Regions from separate parts of the Homo sapiens genome. Here region 2 is linked to region 1. Evidence: promoter capture Hi-C in 16 types of primary human blood cells and fetal thymus (Javierre and others, 2016). All regions are on one chromosome and are shown on one strand. Each heading gives the region's core, a stretch centred on a gene start or on the middle of the fragment in contact. The rest is flanking DNA. Distances are from core to core; before and after follow the strand shown.

The links. The method cuts DNA at HindIII sites, captures the fragments that hold promoters and counts their contacts. A CHiCAGO score of 5 or more calls a contact.
Region 2: a contact is called between a fragment that was not itself captured here and the fragment with the promoter of LINC03040 in region 1, in 1 of 17 cell types (monocytes). The highest score is 5.2, in monocytes.

What each region holds. Positions count from the first base shown.
Region 1 is chr6:43,999,082-44,001,844 of GRCh38, forward strand. It overlaps LINC03040 (long intergenic non-protein coding RNA 3040), which reads left to right and starts at 1,504. Exons shown (of 3, transcript NR_160956.1): 1 at 1,504-1,619. It overlaps SCIRT (stem cell inhibitory RNA transcript), which reads right to left. Exons shown (of 5, transcript NR_125864.1): 2 at 1,962-2,035; 3 at 1,510-1,634; 4 at 137-427. LOC124901321 (a long non-coding RNA gene) reads left to right here. Exons shown (of 2, transcript XR_007059591.1): 2 at 1-473. RefSeq lists an enhancer at 1,611-1,760. The HindIII fragment of the contact is 11,725 bases long and covers 1-2,763 here.
Region 2 is chr6:43,895,901-43,898,600 of GRCh38, forward strand. The region is part of intron 1 of LINC01512 (long intergenic non-protein coding RNA 1512); the gene reads left to right. All of the region lies in intron 2 of LOC105375070 (a long non-coding RNA gene), which reads left to right. Among named protein-coding and RNA genes, the nearest start is that of LINC01512, 6.2 kb to the left of the region's middle. The HindIII fragment of the contact is 3,034 bases long and covers 1-2,700 here.

The sequences.
Region 1 (2,763 bases), core at 254-2,753:
TCACCGCGAAGGTCTGCAGCTTCACCCCTAAGCCAGCGAGACCACGAACCCACCAGAAGGAAGAAACTCTGAACACATCTGAACATCAGAAGGAACAAACTCTGGACACGCTGTCTTTAAGAACTGTAACACTCACCGCGAGGGTCCGCGGCTTCATTCTTGAAGTCAGTGAGACCAAGAACCCACCAATTCCGGACACAGGAGGATCGCTTGAGCCCAGGAATTCAAGACCAGCCTGGGCAACCCAGCAACACTCCATCTCTACAGAAGTTGTAAAATTAGCTGGGCGTGATGGGGCGCATCTGTAGTCCTAGCTACTTATCCTAGCCTTGGCGAGAGGATCACTTGAGCCCAGGAGGTTAAGGCTGCAGTGAGCCATGATTGCACCACTGCACTCCAGCCGGGGTAACAAAGTCAGACCGTGTCTCTAAAAATAAATAAATAAATAAAAATAAAATAAATTTGACAACCAAGTTTAAATGGTGTTCTCATTATTCCCATTTTACAGATGCAGTCACTGGGGCCCCCAAGAAGTTAAGTGATCTGCCTAAGATCACATGCCTTTGTTTATATGTGTTGGAATTTTTCAATTCTCTCTGGAAATCCACATCCTCCACCCCCAACCCAGACTCCAACACAACTGCTTCCACCACGGCCCACCTGCGTACCCCACACATATCCCTGAAGTGCAGACTTCCTCCCATCCTTCCCCAGGAAGATTCCCTGGTCTGTGGGGTAGCGAGTGTTGGGGTGGTCTCTCCTTCCCTCCCATGCTTCTAGATTCCTCTGTAGGGTCCCGGTTTTGTTTTTGGTGTGGCAGCAAGCTCACTGCCTTTTTGAGTACTGTATGTCAGTGAGTTTGCATGCACACACCTGGAGGAGGGATGTGTGGGCATGAGAGGTATCTGGGCAAGTGGGCTTACTTGCCCACCTGGGGCACATGTGGGTACAGTGCAGTGGAGCATACATTGCCTAGATTGTAACCGTGTGTGTGCCTAGACACAGGCAAATGAGCCCATGTGGGTGTTCATGAAGGGCCTGCCCCCTGCATGTTTGGGGGTCTGTAGAATGAGTCCCCATTTCTCTCCCCTTCCCAAATAACTGCCACCATCTTCAGTTCAGACTCCTGGGCCCCAGGTAAGGGGCTGGTGAAAACCGCCTGTGACTGGGGACAGAGACACCTGAGTCTTAAGCCCCACCCAGGCTGCTAGTGCCCTTGAGCAGGCATCACCCCACCCAGGCAGCGGGAGTGTCCTCACCCAATGGGATAGGGTGACATGGGGGAGGAGGTTTGAAGCGGGGAGAAGGCAGCGAGGCTTTCAGCTCCCTAGATGGGAGGCTCATTACCCTAGCACTCAGTAGGTTGTAGGGAAGGGGGACTGAGCCAGGACTTGGCACTGACTACAAAGGGTAGGGGCAGCCCCCAGCACTCCCGCCGCGGCAGGCCAGGGGAGGGGCTGTGACGTTTGGTGGCCTCATGCAGCTGAGAGGAAGTAGCTAATTGCCAACCTGATGACTGGCGGCTGAGGAGTGGGGTGATGATGCCACTGGCAGAAGCAGGCGCCCTGGCCCAAGGAGGAGGCCCTTCAGCAACGGAGTGGGCCTGCATTCTGCGGAGGGTGAGACTGAGGTGGCTGCAGTCAAAGGAGAAGGGGGCAGGGGTTTGTTGAGGCTGTGACCGTGGGAAAGCGCTTCTCCAGGGCTTCCCTCAGCTTCAAGGAGAAAGAGTTCAGAGGCCCTGAGGGGATGAAGGGACTTGTGAAGGGGCTTCAGGGGGATGGGTTGGGGGGAAGGAGGTTCCTATTCTTACTCCCCTTCTGCCTATGCTCCCCCAATGTTCCTGTCTCTCCCCTCCCCCACCTTGGCCCCCTCTTTGGCCCCTGTGGCCAAAGTTGTTGAGGAAGGAGGGAGTAGATGGAGGGCTCTTTTCACCAGAAGACCCCCAGGCACAAGCAGCCCACCTTACTGATGGTCAGAGCATCCAGAAGAAGTGGCAAGACTTCAGCTGTCCTCAAAGCAGGAAGACAGAGTGTTTCTGGCAGAAAGAACAGCACAAGCAAAGGTTAGGCAGTGGGGTCTGGAGAGGCTGGTGGAGGACTGGGGCTTGGCTTCAATGGTTATGAGAGGAGGTGGGCAGGATGTTCTGTACCAAGGGCCACACTGTCCCTTCCTGGAAGAAACAGTGGGTACCCAGCACCCAGAGCTTCTCCCACATGCTGGCCACCGCCTCTGGCCCCAGTAGACCTGGCCCTCAACTGCCTCAGCAAGCCTCACAGGTTGGGGACCCCACCCTCATTATTCTCAAGTGCATCAACCCCGAAGGACTGAAGCCCCGAGTCCCAATAAACAGGTCCCATCCATCCGTAGGCCAGTCCGCTGGGCCCCTAGCACCCCCTATGGGCAGGAAGCAACACTAATGGAGGAGGAGCCTCCAGCAGCCTGGGGTGGGGTGGGGGTGGGAGAGTGAGACGTGAGGGAGGAGAGAGACTTGCCCTCTAGGAAGCGGACAGACCATGCCTCAGGAAACCCCAGTGTCACAGGTCACAGACACTGACCTTGAAGCGTTACTCTCATGGGTGAAATTTAGCCCCTGTCCTCAGGAAGCTCCCAGTCTGACGGGGGACACATATAGTGCTCTCAGAGCTGCCTTCTTTAGGGTGAAACTCAGTATCTGGGCTTCAGGAAACTCCCAGTGTAAGGGGAGAGACACGACCCTGCCCTTAGGGATCTCTCAAATGAGGCATACCCACTGGACTTTCGGGA
Region 2 (2,700 bases), core at 39-2,538, 100 kb before region 1:
CTGGTTGTTGGGCTTTTGATGACTTCCAGTTTGTCATTATTATAAATAAGGCGGTCATGGACATCTTTGTGCATGTGGCTTTTTCCTTCTTATTAATTATTTCTGTAAGATAAGTGGCCAGGTCGGGGGGTAAGGCTGTTTTTATGCTGTTTGATGTGGTTTGCCAAGTTGCTTTCCAAAAGTAAATGAAGGAGGGTTTAATGTGAGGATACATCCACACTGGGAGCCAAGTACAGTCAGGCTTCAGGGAAATCGGAACTGAGAGCCAACCAGAGCTCAAACAGCTGCCTCAAGCTCCCAGGGGTCTGCTTTGTTTCAGCTTCTCTGCTTTCTCTGCTCCATCTCTCTTTCTCTATCTTTATTTATTTTTGACCTAGCAGAGCTATCAGTTCGGAGCATATAACTGCTCACATTTTCTGAGGGCTTGCTTTGTCCTAGGCACCATGCCAATTGCTCACATTGATTATCTTAATTTTCACAACTAGCCTCTGGGGTAGGAATTATAATTATCACCATTTTACTGATGAAGAAACTAAAATATGGAAAAACTAAGTCACTTGTTCAAAGATGCACAGTCAGTAACTGATGGGAACAAGTCCCACGTGACTGACCTCTCTCTCTCTTTAAACATGTGCTCACGACCTATACCAGTCTCCCCGGGAATATGGAGATGCCACATCCACCCACAACAGGCCAGCCCATCATTTCTGGGTCTCTGAGTTCAAATTTTGAAGAGGGAGAATCTGATTGGCTCAGCCCCTCCTATGTCTTGGAACCCTAGAAGTCCAGGCCCAATCAGCTGTGATAGGGGATGAGGTCGGGCAAGGAATGCCAGAAGAGGATGCTGGGCCAAGAGGGCCGGTGGAGGAACTGTTTTGATGTGCCAGCATTGGACTTTGCTGGAAAATATTAAAAAGTAATGTAACTGGTATAAATCTAACTTCTTAGCATTTCATTGTGTCTCAGCCTTTTGGCTAAGATCAAGCGCCGCCTATTTGCATTTGCCTTTCTTTGATTATTTGTGAGGCTGAATGTGTTTCTGTGTTCCTTTCTTTATGTGTGCATTGTCTGCCTCTTTGCCCATCTTGGTCATGCTGTATATCTTACAGATATTAATGCCAGACAGAACAACAGTATGCGGAGAGGGGCTGCAGGCGGAGTGAGGATGATGTCTCACTAAATGGCTTTTTCTTTGTCCCTAATGCCTAGCAGGCTTTGACGGGCTTCCTAATCAGTGTTTCTAAGAGCCTGCTTCTTCTCCATCACAACCTGGCATGTTGCTTGAACTAGACAGTCATTAGCAGCGACTTCTCCAGCCAGAGAATCTCTGAGTTTGCCCTCTCCTGCCTGGCCCCTTCTGAATGAATGAATCAACCTAGAAGAGTTTTCAGGGACCCTGATTTGCTGCTCATATTGTGGGACTCATTCTTGAGCTGCATCCCATGTCTTTGTTGGTCTGAGGCTTTTTTGTTGTCCCAATTCTGGGCTGACTGTGTGCACACCTTTGCTTCCAAGTCCCCAGAAACAAAACTTCTATACCTACATCTCTCTTTGTGAAAATGTGTCGTCCCCTTACTTATAGAAGGCTAAAGATCCTCTCCCATCTTCTATCCCTAGACCCCATAAGTAACAAAGTGCCCATTACTTTAGCACTGAAGTTTGGAGCCTTCCATGAAGGAATGTGAAGTCCAGGAGGTGACATGCTACAAAGTCCTATGCAGCTGACAGAGACAGTGAAGGCTCTGGGCCCAGGGAGAGACAGGTGTTTAGGGCAGCCAGAACTGAGGCAGGAAAAGCTCCTATGGGCAGGGATGGCAGGCAGCTATGAGGTCAGCCTTCATTCAGCAGCCAGATAGCTTTGCACTGAGCTACCCGCTCAGGGGCCAGCTGTTCCCAGTTGTGGGGGCTGGGGAGAGAGGGGTAGTGAGTGGTGCTCTCTGAAGCCAGGGATTCAGGTTGACTTGTGGGATCCCATCCATGACCTTGGCCTCTGAAATCCAGAGCTCCATCACAGCCCCTGGGAGCCAGGAAATGACTAGTGTTTTGGGTCATGGTGGTTAGTTCATGGACTCTTCTTTGGAACTGTGGGTGGCTTCTCAGGGGACCCTTCTCTGCCAGGCCCTAGAGATAATCAGGAGCTGCCCATGGGAGCTGCCAATGAGACTGATAGAAGAGGTGGGAAATAGTGCTCCTCTCTGCTGGCTCCCTAGGAAGGAAGCTGGCTCCCTAGCTCCTGACTGTGCAAAGCACGGGCCAATTATCACTCACCAGGGCCCCATCTCCTCATATCATGAGCCACAGTTTCACACTGCTTTAAAAATCTTTACTCTTGATGTGAGAAATATGGTCCCTCCTAACTCTCAAGATTAGCAGACAAAATATCCTGGGGTTGGACATTTGTTTCCTGTGGCTGAGACCATCATTTGTTGCTTTGTATCTGTTCTTCTCCTCTTCTATTAATATATGAATGAAAGTTTTAGTTGGACACAAAGCTGTCCACTAAGGACTATATTTTCCTGCTTCCCTTGTATTTAGATCTAGCTTGTGACTAGATCCTGGCCAATGGGATGGCAAGGAGGGAGCATTCCCTTTCATCTTTCCCTCTTCCCTCTGGCTGGAATGCAAATGTGATGGCAGGAGCTGTAGCAGTCATTTTGGACTACATGATGAAAACTGCACATTGAGGAAGGCAGGGCAACA